6 separate regions of the Homo sapiens genome follow, and all the other regions are linked to region 2. Evidence: promoter capture Hi-C in 16 types of primary human blood cells and fetal thymus (Javierre and others, 2016). All regions are on one chromosome and are shown on one strand. Each heading gives the region's core, a stretch centred on a gene start or on the middle of the fragment in contact. The rest is flanking DNA. Distances are from core to core; before and after follow the strand shown. Region 1 holds the start of CENPH (centromere protein H). Region 2 overlaps TRAPPC13 (trafficking protein particle complex subunit 13). Region 3 holds the start of KIF2A (kinesin family member 2A). Region 4 holds the start of CCNB1 (cyclin B1). Region 5 holds the start of CDK7 (cyclin dependent kinase 7). Region 6 holds the start of TAF9 (TATA-box binding protein associated factor 9).

The links. The method cuts DNA at HindIII sites, captures the fragments that hold promoters and counts their contacts. A CHiCAGO score of 5 or more calls a contact.
Region 1: a contact is called between the fragment with the promoter of CENPH here and a fragment that was not itself captured in region 2, in 5 of 17 cell types (total B cells, activated CD4 T cells, monocytes and 2 more). The highest score is 11.3, in total B cells.
Region 3: a contact is called between the fragment with the promoter of KIF2A here and a fragment that was not itself captured in region 2, in 1 of 17 cell types (naive CD8 T cells). The highest score is 6.6, in naive CD8 T cells.
Region 4: a contact is called between the fragment with the promoter of CCNB1 here and a fragment that was not itself captured in region 2, in 2 of 17 cell types (non-activated CD4 T cells and activated CD4 T cells). The highest score is 5.7, in non-activated CD4 T cells.
Region 5: a contact is called between the fragment with the promoter of CDK7 here and a fragment that was not itself captured in region 2, in 1 of 17 cell types (monocytes). The highest score is 5.0, in monocytes.
Region 6: a contact is called between the fragment with the promoter of TAF9 here and a fragment that was not itself captured in region 2, in 4 of 17 cell types (non-activated CD4 T cells, total B cells, neutrophils and 1 more). The highest score is 10.7, in non-activated CD4 T cells.

The regions. Positions count from the first base shown.
Region 1 is chr5:69,188,252-69,190,951 of GRCh38, reverse strand. It overlaps CENPH (centromere protein H), which reads right to left and starts at 1,369. Exons shown (of 9, transcript NM_022909.4): 1 at 1,184-1,369. The coding sequence starts at 1,317. It overlaps LOC112267932 (a long non-coding RNA gene), which reads left to right and starts at 1,475. Exons shown (of 2, transcript XR_002956215.2): 1 at 1,475-1,961. RefSeq lists a silencer at 1,318-1,437 and enhancers at 1,296-1,590, 1,518-1,757. The HindIII fragment of the contact is 12,435 bases long and covers 795-2,700 here.
Region 2 is chr5:65,626,603-65,629,302 of GRCh38, reverse strand. The region is part of intron 1 of TRAPPC13 (trafficking protein particle complex subunit 13); the gene reads right to left. All of the region lies in intron 1 of SHLD3 (shieldin complex subunit 3), which reads right to left. Among named protein-coding and RNA genes, the nearest start is that of TRAPPC13, 2.9 kb to the right of the region's middle. The HindIII fragment of the contact is 3,647 bases long and covers 1-2,700 here.
Region 3 is chr5:62,304,834-62,307,533 of GRCh38, reverse strand. It overlaps KIF2A (kinesin family member 2A), which reads right to left and starts at 1,328. Exons shown (of 21, transcript NM_001098511.3): 1 at 998-1,328. The coding sequence starts at 1,061. RefSeq lists a silencer at 595-1,624. The HindIII fragment of the contact is 9,341 bases long and covers 1-2,700 here.
Region 4 is chr5:69,165,815-69,168,514 of GRCh38, reverse strand. It overlaps CCNB1 (cyclin B1), which reads right to left and starts at 1,365. Exons shown (of 9, transcript NM_031966.4): 1 at 1,232-1,365; 2 at 437-607; 3 at 172-342. The coding sequence starts at 1,252. RefSeq lists enhancers at 1,110-1,339, 720-1,685. The HindIII fragment of the contact is 10,262 bases long and covers 1-2,700 here.
Region 5 is chr5:69,233,574-69,236,273 of GRCh38, reverse strand. CDK7 (cyclin dependent kinase 7) reads right to left here and starts at 1,388. Exons shown (of 12, transcript NM_001799.4): 1 at 1,233-1,388; 2 at 821-880. The coding sequence starts at 1,298. RefSeq lists an enhancer at 1,138-1,666. The HindIII fragment of the contact is 18,686 bases long and covers 1-1,959 here.
Region 6 is chr5:69,368,070-69,370,769 of GRCh38, reverse strand. It overlaps TAF9 (TATA-box binding protein associated factor 9), which reads left to right and starts at 1,250. Exons shown (of 3, transcript NM_003187.5): 1 at 1,250-1,307. AK6 (adenylate kinase 6) reads left to right here and starts at 1,250. Exons shown (of 5, transcript NM_016283.5): 1 at 1,250-1,307. The coding sequence starts at 1,280. It overlaps RAD17 (RAD17 checkpoint clamp loader component), which reads right to left and starts at 952. Exons shown (of 19, transcript NM_133338.3): 1 at 837-952. RefSeq lists an enhancer at 149-698. The HindIII fragment of the contact is 4,867 bases long and covers 769-2,700 here.

The DNA of each region.
Region 1 (2,700 bases), core at 120-2,619, 3.6 Mb before region 2:
ATCTTTTCATTTTTCAAAACATTTAAGAAAGAAAAAAATGGTAATTAATTTTTTTTTTTTGAGTCAAGAGTCTTGCTCTATTGCCCAGGCTGGAGTGCAATGGCACAATCTTCTGCTCACTGCAACCTCTGCCTCCCGGGTTCAATCAATTCTCTTGCCTCAGCCTCCTGAGTAGCTGGGATTACAGGCGCCCGCCACCACGCCCAGCTAATTTTTGTATTTTTAGTAGAGACGGGGTTTCACCATGTTGGCCATGGTTGGCCAGGCTGGTCTTGAACTCCTGACTTAAGGTGATCCGTCTGCCTCGGCATCCCAAAGTGTTGGGATTACAGGCGTGAGCCACCGCGCTCAGCCAATAATGATTTTTTTAAAACTACCTCTGTTATGATATAGAACAGAGGACCGCAAATTTTTTTCTGTAAAGGACCTGATAGTAAATTTTTTAGGGTTTGTGAGTCACACGGTCTCTGTTTTAGCTACTCAATTCCACCCTTGTGGCAGGAAAGTTGTACTCCAATAAAACTGTTTATGGAAACTGAAACTTGAATTTCTAATAGAGTTCACGTGTTATGAAATATTTTTATGATCTTTTCCCTGCAACACTTAAACATAAAAACTATTCTTAGCTTGAGTGGTCACACAAAAATAGGCAGTTAGGCAGATTTGGCCCAGGACCTTCTCCTGCTCACTAGTTTAGAAGACGAATGTCCCTTCTCATCGAATCTTCCCCAGCAACCGCTTAGTGGAAAAGTATAAACACCGTCCGCTTAGTAGAATTTATAACATATAAAGCTTCTGGGTTACAAAGGGTCGTAGTTCTAAAAGAAATGGTAGGGGCACCTTCCTTCCAGTTTAGCTCTGGCATTCAATTTGTCTGTAAACCAGAGAGGTAGGGGGAGGGCGGGGAAACAGGAGGAGAAATTACAGCTTCTAAGGGCCCGGGGCACTGTGCTCAACACTTTCCTAGACTATCTCATTTAACCCTTGTAACCTCTCTCCAGGGGGTCATTTTTCTCTCCTTTTCGCTGATGAAGAAAGAGCTTCAACAGTTTAAGTGAATGAGGCAATCACGGAGACCTGACGTGACCGAGCGTGAATTCGAACCCTAGCCCTTCTGAGCAAGGGCGGAGTTCCGGGCCACAACGCCCACTTGGCCCCGGCTGAGGAGGCCAAAGGGAACAACCTGAGGAGCAGGGTCATGCGGTCCTCGCTGCACGCCGCCTGGGCGCCGGCGACCTGCGGTGGCCCGCCTGCCCGGCCTTCCCCTCCGGAGTCCGCGGGCTCGTCGGCGTCTTGCATCTGGGGCTGCTCCTCCATTGCTGGTTGAGGGGAAAGGCTACCACTCAACAGGCAAACGCGCTCAGAAAAGGTCGCTTTTCCCGCCACTAAATGGACGCCGGGAAAAGGCCCGAGGGCCCCGCCCCTTCCGCCCAGGGCCCCACCCTTTCCGCCTTGTTTTTCGGTTGCCGTGGTTACTACGGGCTCCTCTTTCATCCGGGCTCTACTGGTGAAAATAACTGCAGACGGCTGGTAAAAAGTTGGAATAGCTTTCGTTAAGCGTCGGATGTGTAGAGTGCTGAGTTAGGGGCTGGACTAGAGACGTTGGGACATCTCCCGGGAACAGCAGCCTGGAGGGGAAAAATCTCCTGACCTAAGTGGTCATTCGGCCTTGGCGCTTGGACACGGGAGTGCGGCGACAGCCATATGTCCATCCATCTTGGCACTTTTCCGTCCTCTGCCTTTGAAGATGGGTGTGCCCGGCAGGCTGTGAAAGATAAACATTAGAGGGTTGTTTAGAAGACTTTTTTGACCTGAGCCCATGAGGTGCATACCCTTTGTTTGGCGGAGAAACCAGTGGCTTCTGAAGATCAGGGACGGGCCACAAGTGCGAGGCATTGCAGACATTTCGAACCCAGACTTCCAGCCTGGAGACATCCACACGCTTCCAGTTTCTTGCACTGGTACTTCATTCTGTCATTATGATTGCCACCACTCGTAACTGAGAGTTGCGTGCCCTCAAGTTTTGAGTGTCTGCAGGGTACCTTTGAGCTTTCTTAGCTGTGTAGTGAGTGGGGGGAATGGAGAAAATGAAGGACAGATGACTGATTTGTAGTTTTTCATTTGGACACTGTCCTTGCCGCACAAGCACAGCAGCTTGAACCTCTTTGAACAAGAGTCGAGAGTTCTTTTACAGCTAATTACCCACTAGTTAAACTTGATCATACTGTGCTGTTTTCTTCCTCTCCATTGTCAATGTAATACGGCTCCTGACAAAAGTTAAATTCGCTGGGCGTGGTGGCTCACCCCTGTACTCCCAGCACTTTGGGGGCTGAGGCGGGTGGATCACCTGAAGTCAGGAATTCAAGACCAGCCTGGCCAACATGGTGAAACCCCGTCTCTACTAAAAATACAAAAGTTAGCTGCGTGTGGTGGCGGGCGCCTGTAATCCCAGCTACTCAGGAGGCTGAGGCAGGAGAATCGTTTGAACCCGGGGGGGCGGAGGTTGCAGTGAGCTGAGATCGCGCCACTGCACTTCAGCCTGGGTGACAGAGTGAAACTCCGTCTCAAAAAAAAAAAAAAAAGCCGGGCGCTGTGGCTCACACCTATAATCCCAGCACTTTGGGAAGCCGAGGGGGGAGGATCTCGAGGTCAGGAGTTGGAGACCAGCCTGACCAACATGGAGAAACCTCGTCTCTACTA
Region 2 (2,700 bases), core at 148-2,647:
TCTTACCAAAATAAGGGATCTGAACTAGATGCCCTATAAAATCACTTCCTGCCTAAAAACGCTAGTAGTCAACATGTTTAACTCAATAGATATAAAGGACTTGGAAGTATCGATATTAATATATTAAGTAATAATAGTCTTAAAACTTTAGCAGAAACAAAGAGTAAATGAATGATTCTTAAAATATTGTTTTCATATGAATTAACAAAAAATGTAATATTTAAAAATTTGAGGCAACTAAATTGAGGACAATGAAATCACTGTAAATTCTAATCCAACATGGTGAAAACCCATCTCTACTCAAAATACAAAAAAAAATTAGCTGGGTGTGGTGGCGCATGCCTGTAGTCCCAGCTACTAGGGAAGCTGAGGCAGGAGAATAGCTTGAACCTGGGAGCCAGAGGTTGCAGTGAGCCAAGATCATGCCACTCAGCCTGGGCGATAGAGCAAGACTTCATCTCATTAAAAAAAAAAAAAATTCTAATCTGTCTGGAAGAAAATTAATCATTTTATACTTAAAATTATGTAGATTTGCCAGGTGCGGTGGCTCATGCCTGTAATCCCAGAACTTTATGGGGGCCAAGGCGGGCAGATCACGAGGTCAGGAGCTTGAGACCAGCCTGGCCAACATGGTGAAACTCCGGCTCTACTAAAGATACAAAAAATAGCCGGCTGTGGTGGCGTGTGCCTGTAATCCCAGCTACTCAGGAGGCTGAGGGAGGAGAATCGCTTGAACCCGGGAGGTTGAGGTTTGCAGTGAACTGAGATCGCGCCATCGTACTCCCATTGCACTCCAGCCTGGGTGACAGGGCAAGACTCCGTCTCAAAAAAAAAAAAAAAATTATATGGATTCCACCAAACAAATATATAGATAGAATATTTGATGATTTCACGTCATTCTCTGTAGTAAAAACTAAAACCATTAATATGGTTTAACTTTGCTAATATGGTTTAACCAGGCTAAGAACCAGTTTTGTGACACTGTCTTCTCCTCATAATCCAGGCAATTAAACAGTATGGAGACCCCAATACCATGGCTTTTGAATTCCAGTTTGGAAGAGAACAAGAAGTCTAGACTCCTATTTTTTTCTCTTAGAGCACAGAAGTCCTCAAGTTGCCCCAAATTAAGTCACTGATAATAAATTCCAGCATATGGTGCATAGGCTCAAGAATGGAGCCTTCCAATATCTGCAAGTTAGGCTTGCTAATCAGGCCCAAAGCTGTAAGAGCCATAAAACAGACTTTTTCACATCCTAACAACAGCAGAAAAAAATAAGTTGAATCCCTTCTCCCCAAAAATCATTAGAGAATTACTTGATGAGGGTTCTCCCACTGCTAGGATAACCATGAGTATGGATTCTTGTCATCATTTCACAATAGAATCACTGTCTGATTCTGAAGAGTTAGAAGAAATAATTTCATTATTTTTACCTACTGATACTGCCCACTAACAGATCTGACAACTCTCAAATTCATAAATAATTGTGATCTTTAACATCCATATTTTAAATATGGATCTAAATGTTATCATATATACTTTCAAGAACTAATGATGCACTAATGTTTTTCTTCCCTGTTCCTTATACTTTCACATTGTAAAATATGGCACTGAGAAATTCTCTTGTTGTCTAAAGTCAATCAGTGTTATACTCAAGGGATGACTTTTTTTTTTTTTTTGAGACAGAGTCTTTGTTGCCCAGGTTAGAGTGCAGTGGCACAATCTCGGCTTACAGCAACCTTCGCCTCCCAGGGTCAAGTGATTCTTGTGCCTCAGCCTCCTGAGTAGCTGGGACCACTGGTGCACACCATCACGCCTGGCTAATTTTTGTATTTTCAGTAGAGACGGGGTTTCATAATGTTGGCTAGGCTGGTCTCGAACTCCTGATCTCAAGTGATCAGCCACCTCACCCAACCAAGAATAACAAGATATTATCTTTAACATTTTACATATTAAAAGATAAAGTGAACTTAAATGACCACTTAAATTAATACATTTGGCATTCAGCATCAGCACATTGAAATGTGTGAAAATTGTTGATTAACTAGAACAATGGGTTAACTATAAGATGGTACTAAAGAGGTTTAATAAAGTTGAAACTATCAGTCAATTTTGAAGCACTTGTCCGTTTAGGCTGCTTATTGTTCTTTTTTTTTTTTTTTTTTTTTTTTTTGAGACAGGGTCTCACTCTGTCACCCAGGCTGGAGTGCAGTGGCGCAATCTCAGCTCACTGCAGCCTCTGCCTCCCAGGTTCAAGCGGTTCTCCTGCCTCAGTCTCCCGAGTAGCTGGGATTACACCACCACACCTGGCTAATTTTTGTATTTTTGGTATAGACGGGTTTTCGCCATGTTGGCCAGGCTGGTGTCAACTCCTGATCTCAAGTGATCTGCCAGCCTCGGCCTCCCAAAGTGCTATTACAGGCGTGAGCCACCACGCCTGGCTTAGGCTGCTTAAATATTCTTTCTTAGGTATCCTTGGTTTTGGAAAAAAAAGAATAACAGAAAACTAAAAATTCCCAGTGGCAGTCTCTGTATCACTGGAATTTAACTTTTTGTTTGTTTGTTTTTTGAGATGGAGTCTCGCTCTGTTGCCTAGGATGGCGTGCAGTGGCGTGATCTCGGATCACTGCAAGCTCCGCCTCCCGGGTTCACGCCATTCTCCTGCCTCAGCCTCCTGAGTAACTGGGACTACAGGCGCCCGC
Region 3 (2,700 bases), core at 79-2,578, 3.3 Mb after region 2:
TTTACTTATCTCCCTCCGTGCATTTATTCCTTTACAATATGAATTATTTCCAGTCTGGCTGGCGTATCTCACTCCACACCCCAAGCTAGTGTCATAAACCATTTTCCCCAAGAGAAACCTAGAGAAAGATACATAAGCCTAAGGCTCTTAAAAAAAAAAATGAAGCATGTGTCTTCACCTCGCCTTACACTTTTCTCAGTTACCTCTCCCGAGGGTGTGAAAATATCAACATCCGGTCGCCCACCCCCACTCTCTCAGCAGTGCCTCGCATTGACTCTGCCCATCCCCTATCATTCCCTTTACAGTCTCATCACCTTGGAGAAGCCCATCGAATATTTCTTCCCATTGCTCCCCCACCCTTATTCATGGCTCAGCGCGATATTCTCCACATTTTTCTCCCAAGAAGTGGCAAAAAAGAAAGCAGCATGGTCGACGACGAAACCGGGGAGGCCTGACAACCAGACGGCAGTTTAAGGCGACGGAACTGGCTCTTTCCCCCCATCTCGGCCTCCGACCAGCAGTCGGTTCTCTAAATGTGAAATCGCTGGTCTTCCCGCTCCCCCACCCCCATCCCCATCCCCGTCAGAGGCCAAGCCGGTAAAATGCAAAGACCAAGGGGAAGCGCGAGGCAGGGTCATCCCTAACGAAGCCCGCTCCCTCCCGGGCTGGTGTCCCCGGGGGGGGGCTGGAGATTGCGGGAGGAGGAGCGAGCGGCCCTCGCCCAGAGACCCCCGGAGACGCGACCCTCGACACCCGGGCCCTTTCCCCACCCGGCTTCCCTCCCCCGCGGCCCGATCCGGAGAACTGCAGCAGCGCCCGGGCGGACCCCAAGCCGGCCTCACTGGCACACACGCCACACACAAAAGCGCCGCGGCCGCCGCCTTCCCACCCCCACAGCCCGGCGAAGCAATCAATGAGGCGGCCGGCGCCCGCGTCCCCTCCGTGCACACCCGAACACGGGGCCGAGCGGGCCAGCGGGGCTGGCAGCGCGGCTCACCATCGCTGCGCTTGATCTCCACGTAAATCCCGATCTGGATCTTGCCGAAGTTGGCCGTTGCCATCACCTCATCTGGAGCAGCAGCAGCGGGCCGAGGGAGGGGGACCGGAGGGCGGAAAAGGCGGGGAGGGGGCGGGGTAGGTGTGGGAGGGGGAGCGGTTGCCCGCGGCCGCGCCGGCCCGGGCGACAGCGTGAACGCAAGCGGGGCCGCAAGGAGCAGCTGTGGGGAAGCAGGCGGAGGCCCCGGGCCTGCAGGCCGGCAGGAGGACGCGCACGCCGGGTAGTCGGGGTGAAGCTAGGGCCGGGGCCGTGAGACGGCGCGGGGTAGAGTGGGAGGGCCCGCACCGCCCGCCGGGGAGCCGACGCTGGGGAGGCGGGGCGCCGCGCGCCTGCGCAGAGCGCGCCTCCGGCGTCTCTTCTTCCTTTTCGGCTGGCCTCTCCCCGCTGCCTCCAGGCGGCCCCGCCCAGCTCTGCAGCGGGGTGGGCGGCGGCCGCGGCTTACCCAGCCGCTGGAGCGTTGAGCGCTCGGCCCGGCCCACAGCTAGCCGGCGTCGCGTTTGATTTCAGCGCGCGGCCTAGAAGACGCGGGAAGCGTCGCGCCGAGCTTTCTTGCCCTCTCGCTTCCGGGAATTGGCGCTGTTGCCGGAATGGGTTAAAGGCCACGTGGTTTCAGGGGCTTTCTAGCGGGCTGAGGGATGTGAATTCAAGGGCCCTCCGTTGACAGTACGGGATCCGGGTTTTCATCGGAAGGTGGCACCCCCTATTTCCACTTACAGGTAGCTGACCCAAGCAGCCCTCCCAAGCACACTTGGTGTAGGTTTCCCATCCAGTTACGCTGGAAGGGAAGAAACACCCTTGAGGTGTCACCTACCCTAAATCGAAATGAAGATCCACCCCTTTACAGTCTTGCCTTATAGTTTATCACACTCAGAAAGAAGCTCTGTGGTGGGGCGTCCTTAACTGTTCAGGTTATGAGGCATCCGATGCTGGTGCCCTGTTTCTGCTGAGGGTTCAAGACTTACTTGCCTTGGCCTGTAAAGCCAACAACTGTGACTCAAGGGAAGAAGGCAGACACATAAGGTTGACTAGGGAATGTGTCTTTTTGCAATAATTTAATTAGTCTGACCACATCAGCAATGTGGAAAGCAAGACTCTCCATCCTGGCAGAGCAGGAAGGCCACGTGTACCGGGGCCCTGGAAACTGTATTTATAGCACCGTGTGAAAACCTCCAAACGTCTAACTCCTGCTTGTAGTACTGGCAATTGATAGGTTGGAAACAACACTTTTCATGGCCTACTTTCCCTAGTCATTGTTTTTTGTTGTTGTTGTTTTGTTTTGTTTGTTTTTGAGGGGGAGTCTTGCTCTGTCGCTCAGGCTGGAGTGCAGTGGCGCGATCTCCGCTCACTGCAATCTCTGCCTCCTGTGTTCAAGCGATTCTCACGCCTCAGCCTTCCGAGTAGGTGGGATTACAGGCCCGCGCCACCACGCCTGGCTAATTTTTGTATTTTTAGTAGAGACGGGGTTTCACCATGTTGGCCAGGCTGGTCTCAAACTCCTGACCTCAGGTAATCCACCCGCCTCCACCACCCAGAGTGCTGAGATTACAGGCATGAGCCACTGCGCCCGGCCTTCCCTAGTCATTGATAATCTCCCTGTAACAATAACTACAAATATACAATTTAAAATTTTAAAATTGGAAACT
Region 4 (2,700 bases), core at 116-2,615, 3.5 Mb before region 2:
GTAAAGATTATGTGAGTTAATGCATGTAAAATGTTAGGCAGAGCTTGCCTCATGCTAAGCACTCAATAAATGGTATTAATATTACTATTCATTTGAATGCTCTTGCATGTATCAGTGAAATAAGGGACAAGAAATAATCAACAGACTCTACAATGGTAAGAATAAGTTTACCAAAATAGGCTCAGGCGAAAGTTTTTCTTCTTTAACAGGCTCAGGTTCTGGCTCAGGTTCTGGCTCTGGCACTGGCTCAGACACTGGCACTGGCACCAGCATAGGTACCTTTTCAAGAGGTTTTGGTAGTTTTTTATCAATGACTTTTCCAGTAGCTGAAGGTTTTGCTTCCTGTAGATGAAACAGAGAGAATGAAATGTTTCTGCATCAAAGGCCACAGTTGGAAGGCGGGCTCTTACAGAAGTTAGGTCAGGAAGAGAGTTACCTTCTTCATAGGCATTTTGGCCTGCAGTTGTTCACTGACTTTGTTACCAATGTCCCCAAGAGCTGTTCTTGGCCTCAGTCCGGGCTTGGAGGTTGCAGCAGGGGCCGTAGGAACGCGCTTTGCGCCTGCCATGTTGATCTTCGCCTTATTTTCAGCATTAATTTTCGAGTTCTGAAAGAAGCAAGACCACTTTAAGAGCTGATCCACGAAGGCTCGAGTAAGTCAAGGGTTAATTAAGGTGGGGCACAAGGAGAAGTTCCCAGAAAGAAAGCCGACTAAAAATGGGTTCCGAGGGAAAACATGGGTCCCAGAGTCTACTCTGCGGCCGTGACAAGTCAGTTTCCGCCGACCTCTACATTTACCAATTGAGGGATTCCCTGATTAGTCCTGGCCAGCCCTAAAATACCGAGAATTTACATTTGAAAGGAAACCGAAAAAGCCTCCAATTGCAGACACCTTCTCTCTGGGAAGGGGGTTACAGAGTTGCTGGCGGGCCCACTCAGGGACCCTCTATCACTTTTTCAAAAGGTTCCCAGTCGACTCTCCACCTCCCCAAAACATTTATCCAATATCCGTCCAGTTCTCTTTCTCACCTTCCTCCCTCCATCCATCGTCCCCCACACTCTCTCACCAGGCCTGGGCCCACCTCGGCGCTCTCTTGGTGAGTCCCCTCCCACCTTCCTCCCCAAATCGCTCCTGCGGCCCTCTCCCGCTCGGGAGGCTCCCGCAGGCGAGGCAGGGAGAGCAGGCAGCAGCTAAGAAGGCCGCGTTAGTTCGCAGTCCGAAGCGGCTCACCCTGGTGACTCGGAGCGCCATGGCTTCCTCTTCACCAGGCAGCAGCTCAGCGGGGAGAAGCAGAACACCGGAGGCCCGACCAGCCAAGGACCTACACCCAGCAGAAACCAACAGCCGTTCCGCCGCAGCACGCCGAGAAGAGCCAGCCTAGCCTCAGATTTAAACCCCGCACTGCTCCCTCCTTATTGGCCTGTTCGTGGCACTCACTCCCTTCCCATTGGCGGCTGCCGGTCGCAGAGAATGCGTTTCCAGGGCGATCGCGCGAAGGCGTTCGAGAGGGGCGGGGCCACAGTGAGGCTAGGCCGGAAGGCCTGGCCAGGCTCTCACGTGGTCTGCCTCTGCGCCTGCGCTCTCGGGCAGCTGCAGCGGCCACCTGGAGAGCAGTGAAGCCAGTGCGCCGCCCACCTGGAAAGGTTAGCCGGGCAAGAGTGTGCGTTGCCAATGCCAGCTCAGGAAAGGCCTAGTGGCCTTTGGAAGGTGACAGAGGCGCGGCCACAGTCTCAGAAGTGTCAAAAGTAGTTTTGGATCTAGTGTTGCACACTTTCCATTTCTACGGTAGCAGCAATAATATAGTTCATGAAAGGCTTTAATAGACATTCTTTCATTTGATCGTTGCAACAACTCTCTGGGTTGGAGGAACTGAAGCTCAGCGACTTAGATGACTTTGCCAGGGTCACACATTAGCAACGGGGGAACTGAATTTAGGGTTTTTTTTTTTGAGGGGGAGGGAGGGGGTGTATCCGTGTTGTTTTCACAACACTGATTGTCCCTTAACAATATTACTTGATTACTTCAAGATTGTCCAGTTTCCCAAGGCCAATTGTTTTGTTTGTTTTAGCTTTCTATTTGGAAATAATTTCATACTTAGACCAGTTGCCAACAAAAATCTTGTAAGGAATATTTCTATGCCCTTTACTCAGATTCAACTATCCTTAACATGTATTTGCCTCTCATGGGAAAATCAGGAAAAACTAAACAAAAAGACATTTTACCCCATTTGCTTTGTCATTTGCTCAGATTCTCTCTAGATCCAAAGAAAAACAAGAGGGTTCTTTTTGCCTTCTACTCCTCAAAACACACCAGCAGCTCAGCAATTGGAGGGGAGGCTGAAGGACAAAAACATTGCTATCCCATAGAGCAACGGTATAAGAGCCAATAGAGACTCCTGGCGCTGGAAGTCACGGATCCGAAAGAAGGCGCCCAATCATTTGGTTTCTTTGGATCGTTATTGAGTCTTCTGTCATCATAGTTCACCCTCCTACTCGAATGCCTCCCGTGGGGCCCTTACCCTTGCTCTCCTCTGCCTGGAATGCCCGCCTCTTCTTGCATTCAAGCCCCTGGGTTCTATTCAGGTAACTCCCATTCATCCTTCAGTTCTGTGTTCAACATCCATTCTCACTCAGTCTTTCTGGGTTTGATCAATCCTTCCTCGCCCCATGCAGGGGCGAGAGGCAAGGGGCGAAGCAGGA
Region 5 (2,700 bases), core at 139-2,638, 3.6 Mb before region 2:
TAATTATGACCCAAATCTTTTTTTTTTTTTTTTTAAGATGGAGTCTCCCTCTGTCACCAGGCTGGAGCACAGTGGCACCATCTCGGCTCATTACAACCTCCACCTCCCAGGTTCAAGTGATTCTCCTGCCTCAGCCTCCCGAGTAGCTGGGATTACAGACAGGTGCCACCACACCCAGCTAATATTTGTATTTTTAGTAGAGACAGGGTTTCACCATGTTGGCCAGGATGGTCTGGATCTCTTGACCCCAAGTGATCCGCCCACCTCGGCCTCCCAAAGTGCTGGGATTACAGGCGTGAGCCACCGCGGCTGGCCCGACCCAAGTCTTTTGAATGAATATAAGAAGCTACTGAATCCGACCCAGGTCTTTTGAATGAATATAAGAAGCTACTGAACTCATTTTAGACCTCACATCAATGTTGTTCATGCTAGTGAAAGTCTTTCATGGTAAATCCGTACACAGAAAATACAGATACGACACACTGAGTGGATGCAGGTGAGGTATAAACAGTGACCTAGAAAGATCATGGTATCCAATAGTTCTGAGGACCGAAAAGATGGGCAGTACTTGCCCACAACATATGAATTTATGCAGTAAAAATAACATACAGCTTCTTCTTCATTTCAATAGAAATTAAAACGGGTTCAACCCTAGAGTTCCGTTTGGGAACACAAAGCACTAATTAATTATTTTGTCTCTGAAAATGACATGAGTAACTCATTATCAGAGTATGGTCAAGACTAATAAAATGGCTATCAGTCAATTAATAATACAGACATCTTCAAGGAGACTTAAAAACAACATAAAAAGGTAACTCACTTTCTTAATGGCGACAATTTGGTTGGTGTTCTTATCTCTGGCCTTGTAAACGGTGGCAAACTAGAAAGAAAAATAGAAATAACATAAGTTTATGGGAGTTTTTGTGTTTGCCTTTTTGCATTTTTACATTTCGCGAAGCAAAGAGCCCAGAGTTCCTGAGCAGACTCGCGGCGGCTGGAAACGTGGCGGGTCAGTCTCCGTCCAGCTCCAGGCTACTCTTCAGCAAGGAGAGGCCCCTCAGGGATTCACCCCCAGGATGTAAAGAATGGGCAGCAAGTGCGTCTGGACGGTTTCCCCCAACGAGAACGAGCAGCCAAGCCAGACCTCTGGCCTCCACGGGAAAACCCGCAAAGGTGGAGGCGGCGCGGGGCTGTCCGCTTGGGGCCCTCCCCGTCCTTCCAGAGAGCCTCACCTGTCCCTCCCCAAGGAAGTCCAGCTTCTCATAACGCTTTGCCCGAGACTTCACGTCCAGAGCCATCCGGCGCCGTAAAGCCCGACTCCAGCCGAAAAGGGCGAGCTCCCAGGACAACACGAATTTAAAGCTACCTTAAAGCCTCCAACACCCACTTCCGTCCACCGGGCTCCGTCGCTTTAGTATCCCCGCCTCACTTCCGTGGTGGGCGGAGGAAGCTGCGCTAGGCCCAGGCGGTTGGCGTTCCCCACCCGTCACGTGACGCCTGTCGGTGCCTGAAGTGGGGCATCTTCAATGGCTGCTGTGTCACTCTGTTGCCGTTTTAACTTGGGTGTTTTCTACATTACCAGGAACTGGTCAGCGTTCTAATTTGGTGTTCCATGTTCGGGGTTTGGTAGGTGTCTGTGAATGTAGAAAGTTTGGCCTTGTACCTGTTCTCGCTTTTTGGTTCTTGCTCGAGCGCGTCCTGTCGCCGTGGTTGCTATGGACGCCAAACCCTGCTATCTCAGATTACTGAGACGAGTGCCAAGTTCTTACGGGCTGGTCAAGAGTATTCTTAGTCCAGTCCCTTTATGAAGAAGCAGGCCCAGGAAAACAAAATCCAACTCAACTGAAACGTGCTGTGGGAATCAGCTTCTAGTCCTCAGTTTTCTACTCGGTAAAATGGAAAAAATAATGAACTACATCACAGGAGATTGTGGGTATTAAATGAAACATGCAGAAAGCTTAGACATTAACTCAATTAATTGAGACAGTGCTCAATTAACTTAGCAGTAATGAGTACCCAACCCCTTGATTATCATAAATTGTCATAACAAACACACTAATTCATTTATTCAAAAACATATTGAGTGCTTTTCCTTTTTCATTTTTCTCTCTCTTAGGATGCTGATATTGAGTGTTATCTATGTGCCAAGCACCATTGTAGAATCTGAGATAGCAGGGAGCAAAGATCCCTGCCTTCCAATGGGAGGAGATAAAAAAACAAGTCAAATATGTGTTATGATACATAGGTGATAAGTGCTATAGAGATAATAAAGCAGATAAAGGATAACAAATCAGGGCAGGGGCAGGGATGGAGGTTTTAAATAGGGTGGTACAAGAAAGTCATCACTGAAAACCCACTGGAGGGATTGGAGCAGACAAGTGATATGACCTGACTCACTTTTAAAAGGTTCACTCTTGCTGTTGGGAGACTATATTATAGATTTTGAGGGACAAGAAAAAGAAAGAAGGCCTATTAGAGAACTATTGCAGTAATCCAGATGGCTCTACTAGTGGATAATTAAAAGTTTCTGAGCCAGAGCAGCTGTCAACATGGAAATGTGCCCCCCTCCCCCTGCCTTTGTTTGTTTGTTTGTTTTTGAGACAGTCTCACTCTGTTGCTCAGGCTGGAGTACGCTGGCCCGATCTGAGCTCACTGCAACCTCTGCCTCCTGGGTTCAAGCGATTCTCCTGCCTCAGCTTC
Region 6 (2,700 bases), core at 1-2,500, 3.7 Mb before region 2:
TGTTCAGCCCTCCGCCCCAAATCGTTCACGATTAGAGACTGTGACGTTTCAAAAGGTATACAGGTGGAAAAAAAACACCTATTTGAGTAAATATAGTTTGTAGCTCGAAATAAAAGATGCAGACCAGGGGCCGGACGCGGTGGCTCATGCCTGTAATCCCAGCACCGTGGGAGGACGAGGCGGGCGGATCATCTGAGGTCAGGAGTTTGAGACCAGCCTGGCCAAAACATGGTGAAACCCCGTCTCTATTAAAAATGCAAAAATTAGCCGGGCGTGGTGGTGGGCGCCTGTAATCCCAGCTACTCTGGAGGCTAAGGCAGGAGAATCACTTGAACCCAGGAGGCGGAGGTTGCACTCCAGCCTGGGCGACAAGAGTGAGACTCCGTCTCAAAACAAAACAAAAACAAACAAACAAACAAAAAAAGGTGCAGACTGTTGTCACGGTCAGGTCTCTATTCACTCTTGAAAACAAGATTGACAATTACCTCCTTTAAAAAGCAGATAACTGTCCCTGAAGATGCGAGGTTACTGAAATGAGATGTCAGAGGTAGACCTTCAAGACTATTCCTAGCCGACCCACCACCACCCCACACAGTGAACAGGGAATACTAAGCTCAAATATTCGTCCAACGTAATCCTGTAATCAGTGGGGTGCCGGGTTGAGCTCGCAAATCCCCGCTGCAGGACAGGGCTCTGCACCCTCAATCTTCTCATCCCCAGATGGGATGGGCGGGTCGGGAGGAGGAGCGACGAGAGCCCAGGAAAGCTTGAAGGCAGAGATAGACTCACGTCTCTAAGACATATACATAATATAGCCGCAACCGCGGCGGCCTTACTTTCCCGGAGCTGCATCCCCTTTTAGGCGAAGAGCGGAGGCGACCAGGGACTACCCTAGGTGAAAGGGCAGCCACCTGGCCCTACCCGGGCTCAACGCCGAGCCTCTCGGAGGTACGGCCTCCCGGGGACCTTCCAGACTGGTCGGCGCAAGCGAAGGGCGGGGACCACCGAAGGAGTGTGTGACTTAGGCATCCAGCGCACTGCCTGACCCGAAGTACCGACCCGAGTTATGCCCACCCTCCAACTTTGCGACGGAAATGTGTCATCGAAAGCCAGGTAACCAGTGGGCCGCGGCTGGGCCGCCGGGGCAGGCTAGGGGCGCCGCGGTGGGCTTCGGGGCCTTTGGGGCCGTGGGCTTTTGCTGCCGCCCGCCCCTTCCGGCTCCTCCCTGTAGAGCAAAGGGCACGTGAGCGAGGCGCCCGAAGCCGTCGCGGCGGGGACCATGTTGCTTCCGAACATCCTGCTCACCGGTCAGGGCGCGCGGCCGGGAGGGACTGGGCTGGGGCAGGCTGGGGGCGCAGAGTGCTCTGGGCATCGGGCGCCCAGGTGGGGGCCCCTCACTGCCCTCTTCAGAGGCCGGCCGAGGGCCACGAGGCGGTTGTCAGCGCCCCGGGAGCCGACCCTCGCGGGCGTTGCGGGAGGCGAGGGAGGGGACGCGGAACGTTAATTCCGTTGGCCTGAGGCTCCGGGGGGGGGCGGGGGGGGGTGGAGAGAGGTCGGCAGATCCAGCTCTCCAGCTTGGCAACCTGCTTAGTCTTTCTGAATCTGGTATTTCGTTTGTAAAATGGGTTGTTGATTCTTTGGCAGGGTTGGCCTTGGGATTTTTAGCGAAATAACGTAAGGCCATATCTGCTTCCCGGTAGAGTCATTAATGGTGGATGCCTCACTCCTTAGGCCTCCGTGGGCCGTATTTTATTTTTTCTTTGCTTCTGATAAACGCCTCAGATTAGATTTCGGTAAACGAGTTCAGATGTTTGTGACGTGACGAAATTGCTGTATGCTTTTGTTGAGTTACATCAAAGGATCCCCCCGCCCCTTAAAAGGAAGGCATATAGAGCATTTCGGGTCGTTTCTCGCGTAGGAGTGGGTCTTTGAAGCCATACTCAGGGTGCATGTTATCAGTGAAGGGAATTAAAATGCTGCATAACGACTTTAACGAATATTTTTGCTAGCCGTTTAGTCCTGAAAGTGTTTATCAAATTGTAGGCCATTCGTGGAAAAATCTAATGCATGTAGATTTTATTGCAAGGTACAGAAAAATTAAGACTCTTTGTGGGAACAGTAAAGTTACATCATTCACCCAAAGGTAAAATTGTTGGCAGCGCACAAGACATGTCTGTTTCTGAGAGGTGCAGATTAACCACCCCACAAATAACGTTTAGAATTTTAGATTCCTTAAGCGGAAGATTTTACATCTTTTTGCATGGATCAAACATAGTGCCCTGGTTATTAAGTCATTGTCAAAACTTTAAAGTGAACATTTTATTGAAAACATGTTGAGTCCAGGGTTCAGACTTGGTGTATTATAGTGGACTTGAGGTGACCGTTATTCTCCTGGGTATGGGAACTGGATTATCCCTGTTATCTTTATGCTTAAGTTTAATTTCAGGGATGTTAAATCTGAATAGCTGAAAATTATGAATTTGATGATCTTGAAATGTAATTTTAATAGGTATCAGAAGGGGAAGGTAAAGAACAATGTATATAGTATTGTCATTTATGTAAAAGGGAATATGTGTTGTATTTATATAACAAAGAGTATGTACATATATGTACATTTACATGCAAACATAAATAGGGTTTCTTTGGGAAAGGAAACTGGTTTACAGTGGTTATCTCTAGGGAAGGGCGCAAGGGGTCAGT